3 separate regions of the Homo sapiens genome follow, and regions 2 and 3 are each linked to region 1. Evidence: promoter capture Hi-C in 16 types of primary human blood cells and fetal thymus (Javierre and others, 2016). All regions are on one chromosome and are shown on one strand. The core of a region is centred on a gene start or on the middle of the fragment in contact, and the rest is flanking DNA. Distances in the headings are between cores, read along the strand shown.

Region 1 (5,165 bases), core at 770-3,269:
TTTGTATTTTTAGTAGAGACAGGGTTTCATTACGTTGGCCAGGCTGGTCTTGAACTCCTGACCTCGTGATCCACCCACCTCAGCCTCCCAAAGTGCTAGGATTACAGGCGTGAGCCACTGTGCCTGGCCAGAATTAGGTTTTTATAAATGTGAAGTATTAGATTCTTATCAATCGGCAAAAGTAGAACTGAGGAACTATATCATATGCTTATAAACTGATTTCTTCTTAGTTTTTACTCCTATGATGTTTCTGTTGAGACCAGTTGACAGAGTAGGAGTGTCAGTATGGAAAAAGCATGGATCATTTTGAAACATGGATTATTCATCAATTACATGTGTTTTAGAATGGAGTCAGTGATATACTCTTGGAGATGATCTCCCCCACCCCCCATCTCCTCTCCTTTTCCTTTCCCCACATCTGTAGCCACTTCCTGTCAGCGAAACCCAGAAGAAAAACTTGACAGAAGCAAAGGGCATCCAGAGAATTATGATCCCCAGGTTGTAGTTCCAGTTCTGTCATGTCCTAAGCGGTCATCTCCTCTCTGGGTCTCAGGTTTCTTATGTATAAGATAAGTAGGAGATTGGGGCCACAACACCTGAGACTAAAGGAATTCTAAGTTTTCATTACTCTATGGATTCCACCTTTGCTAGCTTGGGACCTGGCAGGTCTCAGCAGCTGGTCATGTAGCTAATTCTCAAAGCAGATAAATGCCTGCAGGATAACTGTGAATTGACTCTAATCACAGCAGAGTCCAGCTGCTTCAATAGATGCTGGTGCCTTTGGCTGCTTCCCGGAGCCACCAGCCAACCCAGAGTTGAAGCTGGCTGGAAAAGCAGATATGTTGGAGAGGCCAGCATCATCTCTAAACACAGCATCTGGGAAATACCCATGTCCCCAGAAAGAGGTCATTGAAATCCTTCACTTGGTGGTGCAGTGCAGAGACTCAGGAAAACCAGGCTTTGAGTCCTGACCCTGCCACTTATACCAGCGGTGTGACCTTGGGCAAATTCTCTGGCCCTATGTTATCTTCCTCCTCCATACAATGAGGGTAGAAATAGAGCCACCTTGCAGAAGTATAGTAAGGATTAAGGTCCCAGGAGGCCTAACAGTACCTACTAAGCAGAGGTCCTCAGAGGTACTTAATAAATGGTAGTAGTAGTTATTATCCTGTGCCCTTTGTTCACAGGAGTCTCTTACAGGGGTGTTGGTCTCAGTGCTCCTCCCCATGGCCAGGCTGTATTGGCTCATGCCCAAGGCGTAGCCTTGCCAGGGAGCCTGGTACAGAGATGCTGCTGATTGGGATGCTGATTAAATTCCCTGATTGAGGAGCCTCAGCATTCTGGCCCAGAGCAGGAGGGCCAGCAATATTTAGCACAATCTGCTTGGATCCTCAATTAAATTGTTTTTCCAAACTGCCCTTTTCAAGGTCTTGTCCTCTTTCCTCACCTCTTTCTGGCCCCTTCTCTCTGGGTCCTTGCCAGAGAAGGGAAACAAAGCCTTGTGGGGCTCCATCTGCTTCCCCCTATCCAGAAGAAGGTGACAAGGCTGTCTTCGTTGCAGAAGATGTGGTTAAAACAAGCCTTGGCTATTCAAGGTGGCTGCAGTCTCATCCTGGAGGCTAAAGTCTCTGCGCATTCCAGGTTGATCTCTGTTTTCTTGGCAAAACTGAGTTCTCAACTCAAACCTGCCTCTCCCTTCCATCCTTTATCCCGACAGCTCGCAAGTGCTTTGCTGGGAAGGACGATTAAGTGTCACTTAGTGTATTTTTCCATTTTCCTGTGTTCATCTGGTAAAAAGAAAATAAAACAAAATAAAGGAGGCCCAGGATTGAACTGTCATTATTTTTTAAATGGAGAGAGAAGGGGTCACATGACTGCGAGTAACTGATTTAGCCAAGTGGCTGCAACTCCGAGTTTGCTGCAGAGCCGCCCCCTCCCGGCGGGGGCGCTGACGTCACGGAAAAGCCCCGCGGCGGGTCGGCTGGGCTGGTTATAAACCGCCCGGCCGCGGCGGCTGCAGGCGGCGGGCAAGGACGGCGGGCACAGCGCAGCACTCCCCGCTCGTTGGCCCGGGTATCCCAGCGCGGACCCACGCGATACGCTGACGCCCCGACGCCGATCCGGCCGAGCCAAGTAAGGGGGACGGCCCGAGACGGAGAAGGGAGAGAGTGGGAGTTTCCCAGCCCGCAGAACTTTCGAAGTTGAGAAAAGAACCCCTGGAACGTGCGCTCAGCACTGGGATTTTCTGGTAGGGGTCAGAGCTTCAAGTGCAAAGGATGTCGCTTCTCATCAGCAGGTTCCTTAGTTCAATTCGGTAGAAGGGTCACCTCCCTCTACAGATCGAGTGGTCAGAGAGGGCAGCCCTTAATGATGCTTTATGTATTTGTTGTTTGAATGTAAGTCTGCCAACTGAGGTGCTGCTTTTGAGACTAAAAAACCGGCTGGTCGTCCTGGTTAGTGGCGAGATGTTGGGGTACGGAGTGTGGGGGTGAGGGTGGGAGAGGAGTGTTTGTGCATCTTGCTGATTGCAACGTAAGTACTTATACTTTATCACCAGTAGCCGGAAAAACAGACCTCCCGGCTAGGGGAGGCAGTCTGCAAAGGGAAAGTTGTAGAGAAGTTGTTGAATATCATTTAGGGGAGTCTTCAGCCTTCTGATTTGCTTCAAGAAGGGGATCTGAGAATGGTGGCTCAGGCCTGTGATCTCAGCACTTTCGGAAGCCGAGGCAGGAGGATCACTTGACCCCAGGAGTTCGAGACCAGCCTGGGCAACATAGTGAGGCCACTGTCTCTACCAAAAAATAAAAATAAAAATAAAAAAACTAGTGGACGTGGTAGTGCAGGTCTGTAGTCCCAGCTACTTGGGAGGCTGAAGTGGAGGATCTCTTGAGCCTGGCAGTTGGAGGCTAGCTACAGTGAGCTATGATCGTGCCACTGCACTCCAGCCTGGGTGACAGAGCAAGACCCTGACTCAAAAAAGGAATCTGAGTTGAATTAAAGAACTCTTGAGAATGGATGTGGTTTTTTAAGAATGAGGCACTTTCTCTGCAAATTTCATAGGTCTGAACATGAGCAGGTCATTTCTCTGCCAGGGTGTCTAGGTTTGGAGCCGGGATGTTTTAAAAGTGGTATCTGTGGGTAAGAGGGCACAGCTGAGGCATAAACTTTAAACAGAAAATTTCCCCCCTACCCCCAATAATGGCAGGTGGATGCTCTCCAGGCAGCTGGAGAGCATCAAGGCAACTTTACTAAACATGGAAGTTCCAATAAGTGCCTGTCCAGTCCAGCCAGGGTTGCAGTGGGCAGGGGAGGGGAGGGTGATGTCATTGCCACGTGTTTCCCACTGAGGCACAAAACCTGCTGGACACTGGTGCAATTAAGAGCCAAGTTTAGACAAGAGCAGCTAACCTGACCAGCTGGTCCCCAGCAACATTAACTTGTTGCTTTTCAAGCCATCTTTGGAGTCTGCTGGTTCTTTCCAGCTGCCTTTGTGCCAGCTCTGAGTGCAGCTCTTCTTTCATCCAAGTCTGCTTTGAGGAAGGGGGAAGCCCATGGGCAGTGGGTGATGTTAACCGTATTTGTTTTCCCATGCAAATGATAGTCTGCCTGAGGAGCTGGTTACTGACAGTGTGGGCAGCATGTGTGTGTCCAGTTGAAAGCCTGTCTTGTTGGGGTTTGGGGGACTGTTTAATTGGTGGTCTTTATGTTAGGGATACTTGCTTCTCATCTCATCTAATAAAATATTACTGATGACTGACCATGTATTTGAGCGGAGCTCTCACTCATGCTTACTAATGCTGCCATCTTGGCTGCTTTGCTCCCCAGGACTCAACGATGACTCTGAATAATGTCACCATGCGCCAGGGCACTGTGGGCATGCAGCCACAGCAGCAGCGCTGGAGCATCCCAGCTGATGGCAGGCATCTGATGGTCCAGAAAGAGCCCCACCAGTACAGCCACCGCAACCGCCATTCTGCTACCCCTGAGGACCACTGCCGCCGAAGCTGGTCCTCTGACTCCACAGACTCAGTCATCTCCTCTGAGTCAGGGAACACCTACTACCGAGTGGTGCTCATAGGGGAGCAGGGGGTGGGCAAGTCCACTCTGGCCAACATCTTTGCAGGTGTGCATGACAGCATGGACAGCGACTGCGAGGTGCTGGGAGGTAGGTGTCCCAGCCCCAGTGGGCTTCTTTCCACCAGGGGTGGCCCAGGAAGAAAGAGTGAGGGTGGGTGACTTATTTACCCACAGAGTTGGGAGCTGAAGTTAGGCATTTTGGACAATTGATGGGGGAGCTGAGTCTCTAGAAAAGCCCAAGCACAGGCTTTCGGGCAAGAAAATGAAAATGCTTGTAGACAGGACCAAAATCTGTTGATCCTGGGCCAGAAAGGGAATTCTTCAGATTCCAATTCTAAATGGGTTGGGGAAGGCTGATTAGAGAGGGCAGAGCCAGAGGGTCAGCGCCCCACTTGACTTCTGCTGACTCTGACTTGAACATTCTTCCCGGAACTCAGTATAGACACAGCCTTTTTCCATGGTTATACCTAAAACAAGCCAGTTGGAAAAGCTGTTAGGATGGCTTGATCAGTTTGCTTCCACCAATATTAGAAAGTTTTGTGGGTGTTAAATAGTTCAAAATCTGTATTTGAAATAGCATAATAATTTTTTAAAATGTGAAGTATAACAATGAAACTTTCTATAGAGTCTGACAGCTTTTCAAGACAATTTTCCCTGTACAATTTCATCTATTTATTGATTGGAGCCTGGCCTATTTCCAAAACTGTTTTGAGGTGACATTATCTCAAAATGCATGTATTCTTCAGCTAGGGGTAAAGCACAGCCCTATGTTCTGCTAAGTAATATGAGGATCCTGATAGCCAATGCCATCCATAAAGTGTCTTTCAGCCACAGCTTCAGTCTGAGCGTATGCGACCAGGGTAGTTATATGTCCCTATTTGCAGCTACAGAAATAAAGGAAGCACTGCTCAGTGTTTCCCCAAGTCACATGGTCTGTGTTCTGTCGCGACTCACAACTGAATCACAGAGTAGGGAGGTGTCTTAGCGATGACTCAGTTCTCCCCTGCATTGATGCATATTAATGTTATTCCTCACTACCCACAGCCCATCTCATCTGGAGGTTTTATTCTTCTTGATTGTCTCAGTGT
Region 2 (5,165 bases), core at 1,664-4,163, 230 kb after region 1:
ACTTGAGCTCAGGAGTTCGAGGCTGCAGTGAGCTATGATGACACCACTGCACTCCAGCCTTGGCAAGAGACTGAGACCCCATCTCTAAATAAATTTTTTTTTAAGTGGGAATTATAATAGTGCCTCCCTCAAAGGCCAAATATTTTCTAATATTCATTTTAAAATGTATATTATTAATATATAAAGTGTTTATCCAAACGTCACCTAAAATGATCTTGTAAAATACCAGTTGTCTTCATGCTATGTTTGAGATACACTGATACTACATAAAATAAAGAGAAGGAAGTAAGTGTGCTCAGCACAAGCCCTGCTGCCCCCTGACCCCCGCATCACACACATACCCACTCAATCCACAGAGGAAGGCAGCATTATAATTACGTGACCCGCCAGCATGTTGAGGTTGAGTGGCCTGACACAAGGTGGGGAACAGAGGAGAAACCTGTGCTGTGTCCAAAAGCCCCAGGGGTTTTCCAAGGTGTATGCAGACCTCTGTCTCTCCCAGGCTATCAGGCCCTTTGTGAATGAATTCACAATGACCCTGCCAGAAGTTTAGGCCAAGAATTCCCCTTTGGATAAGATGGATTCTGAGAAATCATTGTATTTCCCTAAACACAAGTCTGTGTTTTTACCCAAAGTCCCATCAAATCTTAAAAGCCCTTGGTCAAGCTTTTAAAGCCTTGCCAATATTATAAAGACGAGACTTATCAGGCTTCTATTAATAAAAACCTAAGCATGAAGAATAAAGGGAAATCTGGACTCTTGGCCACAGGGGAACAATACATTGTAGCTTCCAAATGTATGCATTTTAAAGGCACTAAAGGTATCAAATGTCATATTGCTACAAGTCAGACAGAATTTAACATTTTTTCACCTTCCTACCACTTTTTTCACCTTCCTACCACTTTTTTCACCTTCCTACATGTACATATGTGTAAATTAAGATACATATTTTTGAGAGCTATTGAAAATACTTTTGAGAAGTTTTGAGCTATTTTTGAAAAATGTCTGACGCAAAGTAATGCAGGGACATTTGGATAAAAGAATGACAAGAGCATCCCTGAGAACTGAGAAAGGTGGAGCACCACTCCCCTCACACCTCTGAGCACTCCCACAGGTCCAGCGAGTTCTTTAGTAGAATGTTAGGTTTGGATGATTAAGCAGGGATGGGATCTGAGCTAAATCAGAGACTGAAGGCCAAGGTCTGCACTTTCTAATTCTGTCTCTGCTGGTAACTCCCTGCAGGACGCTGTGTGCTACCTCATAGGAAAATAGAAATAAAGATTTTACTGAGCTAATTACAAAGTGGCTTTAAATAATAAAAATATTTATGATGGAGAGATAAATATATGGCTATACATATGGAGAGATTTTACACACGTGATTTTAGCAGTAAAAGAGACTTTAGTTCGATCATGTTGCTTTTAACAGATGAAGAAACTGGGGAATTGAAATGCCAAGTGATTTGCTTAAGGTCACACAGTAAATTACTGCTGGATTAGGGATCAGGAAATAGGCCTCCTGATGTGATTCCAGGTGCTTTGCGTGCTAGTACATGGGCGGCAATGTAATGGCATAGTGAAGACAGTAGTTGAGTCTGCAGACAGAAAATAAGTAGATGTGGTTAAAGAGTTCTTATAAATTCTTCTTATGAAAAGTAGGGACAGATAATTTTTTTCTTTTCTTTCTTTGATAAGAATAGAATGGAAAGGAAATTGGTATAGTTTTGAAAGGTTAGGTGATAGTAAAATAATAATTGATATTAAATATTATATTAGTAATAATAATAGCAGTTAATAACATGCATTAAATATCATATGCCAGGCACTATGCATGTGAGCCTCACGTGATCCTTATGACATCTCTATGATATTGAGACTATTCTTAGCACCATTTTAGCAAAGAGAAAACAGAGTTTGATGAAAAATTTCCAATTAGATGGCCTCCATATGTGGTTGATTGCATGAGCCAATTCTGCTGCCTTACTTTGGGCATTAACAGATGGAGCCCACCCTAAGAGTAGAAGGCCAGGGGACTTAAAACCTTAAAACCCATGGGAGAGAGATCTGAAGGACTCCTTGTGAATGTTTCTTACTAAGTTAACATATATATAAACTCACTTAATTCTTTCGGCAACCATAAGACCTAATTACTAAGGTTTCATTAGTTCCATTTTATAGATATGGAAGCTGAGCAAAGACAGATCAAGTAATCTGACGGAGGTGGAGCCAGGATTCAATCCTAGTTTCCTTTACTTCGGAGTCCATGCTGTAAACCACCATGCTCAGCTTTCTCCTGATCCTCCATTTTGTCATCTGTAAGACGTGGGTTATAACACAAATAATGTTTGGAAGACGATGATACCTCACGATGCCAGGTAGATGAAGGCACTTTATAGACTATTAGGTACCGAAGGACACTATTTTTGTGAAGATGAGAAGAGAAGCTTTGTTTGAAACCACCGAATTTAAAACTTAAGAGTTTTCCTAGTAATGTTTACTAATTTTTTTTAATTCTGGAAGCTAAAATTCTAGATGCCTCTTTGCCATTTTCCTTCTGCATACATTACTAAAATATGCATGAAACCTCAAGATGCAAATTGAGCTTTCTAATGAAAACCATCACCAGTTAAAACACTTGGTAAGACTGATGAGGGGAGTTAAAAATCCAAATAGCAAGCTGGCTCCCAAAGGGTTGTTCCTGTTGATCTCGGGATTCTGAAAGAAAATAATTAAAGCAAGGCCCTTGTAAGGTTCCCACCAAGATTTATGGACAGAAACTTAAATATCTCAGCTATTCCGCTTCTGTTTAATTGCTCCACTGTCAGTGACCTCCACAATGGAAAATCTGAGTCGCGGGCAGCCGGGGAGGGATGTGAGCGCTCGCAGCAGCCGGGAGATGCAGCAGAGGAAGTGGGAAACCCTCCCGCTGCAGCGGCGCTGCTGCACTCACAGTAATAGCTCAGGAGCTGAAGTAAGAGGTCAAGGTGGGAGGGAAGCAGATCCAACTGCCCATAAATATTCTTAATACATTGTATATCCCTATGCACATTGCTTTGAATTAGTATTTCTTGTCTCCATCTTGACCACAGGTTGTTCCCCACAAACATATTACGTACTCAGACACACATGGTCAACTTTCCAAAACAGAACAGCTTGCTGAAAGAGAACTCTGGGATGTTTGTTGCTTAAAACGGCATTTATTTCTTAGGACAAGTTCTAATCAAAGCCAGCCATGACTTGATGTCTTATAACCACCACAGTGAAACATTTCCAAATCTAGTCTAGAGGGCATTCCAACAATAGAAAACAGAAAGGCTTCCATCCAACCTAGACTGTCACAGCACAAGTAGTATGTTTTAATGCAGATAACTGGCCTTAAGCTTGGCTAGTGTCAAGTCCTTTCTATTTTTTCCCCTCTGTTTTTCTATTTTTTAAAAATTTGTCCTAGATAGTGCTTACATGGCAACAAATATGAATAACCAACTGTACGCTGAAAGACTTTCCACAAGGGGATATGAAAATGAGGGCACAGGGACACCGCCCTTTTGAAATGATTTATCGATGTACTGAAATCTATGTATTTGTGACATCAACGTACTGAAATCTATGCATCTGTGATCACGAGGACATACACACCAGCGCTCACTCACAGCTGAATCCATCCAAGGCTGAGATCTTTATTGTGTGGAGAAGGGAGACAAATGAAACACTTAGGTCAACTCCTCACAGTCTTCTTCCAGAAGTCAACCTCTTTAGCTTTGGCCAAGTCGTATGTATTTATTAGTGGGTGCAAAAGTATTTGCAATTTTTCCATTAATTTTAATGGCAAAAACCGCAATTTAATTGCACCAACCTACTAAGTGGCAGCCCTAATTCCTTTCATGGAGCTGTAGTTCAAAAAGGTTATTGACCTTCTTAGTGAGTCAGTTGGCAGAGAGTCTTGGGGGTGCAAACAAGCACATTGGTAAAAGGAGCACACATAAAAAATGGATGGTGAGCAGTTACACTCCTAGATATATACCCAAAAGAACTGAAAGCCGGGACTCAAACACAAACTTACACACAAATGTTCATAGCAGCACTGTTCACAATAGCCAAAAGGTAGAAACAACTCAAGTTTCTGTCAACTAATGAATAGGTAAACAAAATGTGGTATGTCTATACAATGGAATATTACTCAGCCTTAAAAAGGAATGACATTGGGTTGGGCGTGGTGGCTCATGCCTGTAATCCCAGCACTTTGGGAGGCTGAGGTGGGTGGATCACCTGAGGTCAGGAATTCAAGACCAGCCTGGCCAACATGGTGAAATCCTGTCTCCACTAAAAATACAAAAAATTAGCCAGGTGTGGTCGTGGGTGCCTGTAATCCCAGCTACTCAGGACGCTGTGGCAGGAGAATCACTTGAACCCAGGAGGCGGAGGTTGCAGTGAGCCGAGATTGCGCCATTGCACTCTAGCCTGGGCAACGGAGCAAAACTCCATCTCAAAAAAAAAAAGGAATGACATTCTGATATGTGCCACAACATGGATGAATCTTGAAAACATTATGCTTTGTGAACAAAGCCAGACACATGTTGTATGATTCTATTTATATGAAACACCCAGAATTGGTAAATCCATAGAGACAGAAAGCAGATTAGAGGTTACCAGAGACTGGGGAAGGGGTAGGGGAATGGGGAATGACTGCTGAGTGGATACAAGATTTCCTTGCAGGGTAAGGAACATGTTTTGGAATTAGATAGAGGTGGTAGTTACACAATAAAGCAAATGGACTAAATGCCACTGAATTACACACTTTAATTAATTTTATGTTATATTAATTTTACCTCAATAAAAAGGGAAGAAGCAAATAGCCAGGGAAGGAGGTCCAGACCCTAACAGAGAGGAGGAAACTTGGCTGATTACTCTCTGTCCTCTGTCTCTAGCCCCAGGGCCTTCTTTGCTTCCTCTCACCAAAGATTCTGCTTATTTGGGTTGCTGTGGGTATGGAGCGCTGCCTGGAAGTTGAGAAATCTCCATGCGACCCACTCATTCAGCCTAGCAGTTACCTTCTAGCCCCTGGTCTACATGCCACCTAGGGCCAGCATCCAACGACAGCTTGTTCTCTGTGTCCTGGATTTCTTCACAATCTTTGCCTTGAACCATTCCACGTCAGGCTACCTTGCA
Region 3 (5,165 bases), core at 1,333-3,832, 170 kb after region 1:
AGATTTCTTGGTTGTTCTCTTTGACAAATCTGATTTAATCTCATCTGGGTCCCTATTCCTGCATGGCCACAGAAGGCAGGATCTGAGCATCTGCTGTCCCCTTGGGTGAGACTCCTGTCCTGTTTTCTGTTTCATTCATGGACATTTCCTTCATGGCCCCTCTAGGCACTTTAGTCTTGTGAACCCTTGAAAAATGAACCCGTGCAAAGGGTAAAGGCAGGACACACTCATTGGCTCAGTTATCAGTGTTCCTGCCAGCTCTGTCCTCTAGCTACCTGTCAAGAGTTCAGAAGGAATGGGACATTGACCGTCATCTCTGAGCTCCCTGTCACTGGCCTGGACCTGGAGAGAATGCTTCCTCAAGGAAGCTTTCCATGGCTGCTCCTCTTGGAAAACCTCTCCTTCTTTTATGCCCCTACAGCAGGGTGTACAGGTAATACAGGATCCCCCCTGCTCAACATGCATGCACATGCATGTGTGCATGCACACATCAGCTCCTGCTGTATATATGGCTTGACTTTGGCTGCCTGCTGCCAGTGTTACCCCTACATAACACTCAATGCACATTAGGGTTGTTTGCCTTTATTCATAGGTCTGTGAGTGTTTGGGTGGTGAGCAGTGGAGGAGGAAGAACCTAGATAGGGGCATGGAGAGGAAGAAGAGGAAAAAGCAGCCGTGATTTAGAAAGACAGCAGCAATGATTTCATATCTATTATCTTAGGGATGGCCCTATGCATTGAGTGTGGCCTGTGTTGAAGAGAGAAGACCCAAAGCTGACACCACTGTCCAAAGGGGCTTTGACTAGTGCTGCTCTGATGGCCCAGAAGACACAGAGCAGCCAGAGGCCCAAGAGAGTCCTTTCTGGCCTTTGCAAAGAATGTCTGCACCTCCCTCCACTCAGAGGCCTGGAGGGTTTGGATGAGGGGAGATGGCACGCTTGGCCTGGGTGGTGGGCTTCTTGTGATGAGCTGTCACTGTGAAGAGACTTGCTGTGCTGAAGGCAGTGTGGATGGCAGGGAGAAGAAGAGGAAGAACAGAGCAAATGTGCACGGTAGCAAGCTGGTTGGAAGCACTTGTGAAGCACCGCTGGGGGCTCCCAGGGGTAAACTGGGGCTCTCTGCTTAGGTCCCACCACTAGACAGATGGAAGCTACCATGTCATTAGACATTGATTTACAGGTATTTGTGTTCACATCTGTATTCATTGGAATATAAAGTTGGCTTCTTTAACAAAGAGACCTAAGTTAAAGTCATTTACATTAAAAGTTGCCTTCTCTCTCAGGTAGAAGTCCAGGGACATGGTCCATGCTTGCTATGGTTGTTTTATAATCATCAGAGCCCAGGTTCTGCTGCTCTGCCATCCTCACAATGTGGCTTCTACCTCATGGTTCTTCAGGGCATCTCCAGCTCCTGCCGTCATATCTGCTTCCAAGTAACAGGAAGGAAAAGAAGGGGAAAGCATGGGGACATCATTTCTTTTTAAGGCACAACTATATGTTACACAGATCACTTACATCCCATAATCCAGAACGTTGTTATAGGACCACCACTAGCTGCGAGAGAGGCTGGAAGACAGTGTTTGGCTTGGTAATCATATACCCAGTTAAAAATTCTATTACTTTAGAAGAACAGGAGAATGAATATATTAGATTTCAAATATAAGTTTCTTCCAGAGCATCTGTCTCCACTAGACTAGAAGCTCACTGAAAACCAGGGCTTTAGTCAACCATGATTCCACCAAGCTCTAGCATAATATGTACACGTAGTTGACAGACCATAAACCAGAACTGCCATGACGTCCTGTTCTTGCTACTCTGTCACTATGGGCTAGTCACAGTGGGTAGCACACGTACCCGCAATGAAAGCCGAGCCTCACAGAATTGATGCCTTCTCTGCCATTTACTTGCTCTGTGTGTCTGAGCAAGTCAGTCCGGACATAAGTTTCTTCATCAGTTCAGGGGGAATAATAATACCTGCCGTTATAGGGTTGTGAAGATTAAGGGTATGTTTAGTGCCTGGTACTCAGTTGGCATTCAATAAGTGGTTTAAAAAAATTAGACCATCCCATGGCAATGTCAGGGAGAGGCCACATGCAGAATTTCAGTCTCTCTGGGCAGTGCATACAGCTGTTGTTGAGGACAACAGAATAGTTCCAGGTGGGTGTGTACTTGCTTGAGGCAATTATCTGTATAAATGACCAAGGAGAGAACTCAGCTAGTAACCTTAGGAAACCAATAGTCTGAATTTCTCCACCTATTTGTGATAAGACTTTTTCTCAACATGGCATTTTTGCCAGGTACCAAGAGAGATAGGTACTGGGAATCCTTTTCCCTCATGGCCTAAGGGAACTGGGGGGAAGCAAAGAGCATTTCAATTAAAGGTTTCTCTGTGCTGTGGAATTCCAATCCTGCAGGAGGTTTGGCCAAGAGGCTCATTGCATGAGGTTCTCCAGCCCACCCTAAAGGACTTCTCCCTGTTCCAGACAATAAGAATTCTTGGCTCAAGTGCAGCAGACACATAGTGTGGGAACTAACTCAAGGCAGTCACCTCCTTTCTTTCCCTCCAGAAGGGCGAGAATCTAGACCTCTCTCTAAATCACTTAGAGTCATAGTATTGGCCATGCAAGCCACCTTTCCCAAGGTATTGATAAAAATAAGTATGTGGCCTTGAACATGTCACCTGCAGGGACAAGAGTCACACTGACAGTGTGACATGGGAAAAGCATGGGACTGAGGCAGCCCTTGGATCAAGTGTCAGTTTCACCACTTACAAGGGAGATTTGGGGCAAGTCCTGTAGCCTTGCAGAGTCTCAGTTTTCTCCTCTGTAAAGTGGAGGCTACTTCATGCCTCAATAGGATTAAAAAAAACAGAACTGAAGTCATGTATCAAAAAAGCATCTCGTACATGGAAAAGCTCTGAAAATGTTTTCAATATTGTAAACTTGGTCAAGCTCCCTTTAGAGACTTTAGTGCTTCTAAAGGGAAATACAGGGGCCTCTCCCATGCAGTACCACCCATCCTGGCTGCTTAGGGGGCCCTGCCTCAGATTTTTGTTCACCCCCACCTGATGAGGAACACTCAGAGAGCAATTAGATTGCTCCCTTCTGATGTCCCAGCCCCATGAGTATCTGGGCCATTGGTTCCATGGCTCTCCTCCCTGACATGAACAGACCATTTCCAGATTAGTTAGCAGGTTAGAACTTGGCATTAGAGTTGGAGAGACCTGGCTTTCTCAGTCACTTGCTGGAGACTTTGAGTTATTTAGCTGTCTGACTCTTGATTTCCAAGTGGGGAAAATAATAGCAATGTATTAATTAGAATACTTTAGGTTGCAAGTAGCAAAACAAACTCAAACTGGCTTAATCAGTAGGGATATCAATTATCTTACATAACAAGGTTTCTAGAATAATTCAGTTTTCAGGACTGTTTGATTCAGTGGCTCAACTGTGCCATTGAGTAAGCTGGTCTCCCTCTCCTGGCTCTGCCATTCTCATGCTGGCTCTGCCTAATCTGTTAGCTGTATGGCTGCAGCCATCCCAGGCATCAAAGATTAAGGAAACTTCTAAGATCTTCCCCAGGAATGTTGTTCTCTCATCTAACTTTCCAGATAAGAGGTACCTATGCCCATCCCTGAACCAATCACTGGGAAGGAGACAGGTTTAACCTGAGATGAATCAAGCCAGTTGCTGGAGCAGGGGTGCATTTGGTTTTCCCAAGGCCACACTGGGGAAGAATGAAATGGATTTTATTAGAAGTGTTAAATTACATAAGCAGGATGCTATGACCATGATGCTGTCTCCATACTCTGGGTTCCTGGGTAACAAACTGCAACCTAATTTAAAGAAACAGAAACCTCATTTAGGAGCATATTTTACAACAAAGAGCTGAACTTCGGCCATTAACAGACAGCCACCTGATCAGACCATGCTCAAATAAGGCAAATACTTAGCTGTAGCCTATCAAGTAACTTCTCTACTTTGCTTCCGCATTCGGTCCATAAAAGCTCCCTGTTCACATGGCTAGGTAGAGCTCTCTGAATTGCCTTTGGTTTTGAGTGCTGCCTTATTCATGAATCATTCTTTCCTCAAGCTGTTAAATTTGTCTGAAGATTTTCTTTTAACAGAAGAAAGGGCAAAATGGATGCTAAGTGGGCAACCAAGAGTTTCCTCTGCCAGTGACCCATCAGGGTGGTGTCAGGGTTCAAGGAAATGGGGTAGTGAGTGCTTGCTAAATGGCACCTATTAGTATTCTCTTTTTTCATTTTCCCATCAAATTCTATCCTGCCTCCTGCTGCCTCAAGACCCAGATGTGTGATCATGAGGATATTCCAAACGTGGCAGTTCTTAGTATCAGACAGAACTGCGGGGACAAGACAAAGAGCAGAGGGGACTGAAAACAAAAACAAAATACCTTCAAATCATAGCCCTACAGAATTCCCTTTAGGACCATCATTTGTCCTGAATGTCCTCACAGCAGCCCCATCGGCCTCCTGCTACTGTTGCTGTGTCTGCAAAGGAGTGGGCCTGACACACGTTCTCAGACGTTATACTGTAGCTGGGAGAATGTGGCCCATCAGACAGCTCACTCTGTCTTCATCACCACCCCTAGGGCCCTTGCTCCTTTTTATCAGTTAACTCTCTCCAGCACAGGAAGCCATGTGCTTATTGACCTCAATATCCTCTTTGGCAGAGTTATCGCATGAAAAATTGTGAGTGCAACTGGAATATTTTGAAAATATGAATCTGATATAATTTGTTTGTCTTTAGTCTGTGAATTAGAATTTGGAGCCTTAAGCTTATTACTCAGAAAGAGAGGGTGGTTGCTTCTAAAAATAGCAAAAATACTGTTTTTCCATAGCCCATTCTTGAATATTGGTTTCCACATTAGAACATTCCAAAGTATAGAATGTGTTATTTATTTATTTTTAAAGCAAGGCCATCTGGCTCAAATGCCGATGCTTAAGAAGACACATCCTTCATGTTTCCTAGTTTCCTAGTAAAAGAAAACAGCATCACAGAATAAGTGCCCTGCTGAGGGTTCTCTTCTCCACCCATACTAGATTCCTTCACTCTCTTCTCTGGTCTCATTGCTTTTGCTGTACTATTCTTCTACCTATCTTTACTTTCTCTTTGCCTGTCTTTTGTTTTATCCTTCTTTCAAGACCCAG

The links. Contacts are between HindIII fragments. The CHiCAGO score rates a contact against its expected background, and 5 or more counts as called.
Region 2: a contact is called between a fragment that was not itself captured here and the fragment with the promoter of GEM in region 1, in 2 of 17 cell types (M0 macrophages and M1 macrophages). The highest score is 5.6, in M0 macrophages.
Region 3: a contact is called between a fragment that was not itself captured here and the fragment with the promoter of GEM in region 1, in 1 of 17 cell types (M2 macrophages). The highest score is 5.7, in M2 macrophages.

The regions. Positions count from the first base shown.
Region 1 is chr8:94,259,173-94,264,337 of GRCh38, reverse strand. It overlaps GEM (GTP binding protein overexpressed in skeletal muscle), which reads left to right and starts at 2,019. Exons shown (of 5, transcript NM_005261.4): 1 at 2,019-2,248; 2 at 3,826-4,165. The coding sequence starts at 3,835. RefSeq lists silencers at 2,708-2,777, 3,919-4,062. The HindIII fragment of the contact is 9,385 bases long and covers 1-5,165 here.
Region 2 is chr8:94,026,293-94,031,457 of GRCh38, reverse strand. The region is part of intron 1 of LOC124901979 (a long non-coding RNA gene); the gene reads right to left. Among named protein-coding and RNA genes, the nearest start is that of PDP1, 110 kb to the right of the region's middle. RefSeq lists enhancers at 295-424, 435-564. The HindIII fragment of the contact is 936 bases long and covers 2,446-3,381 here.
Region 3 is chr8:94,093,834-94,098,998 of GRCh38, reverse strand. No RefSeq gene overlaps it. Among named protein-coding and RNA genes, the nearest start is that of CDH17, 110 kb to the left of the region's middle. The HindIII fragment of the contact is 4,424 bases long and covers 371-4,794 here.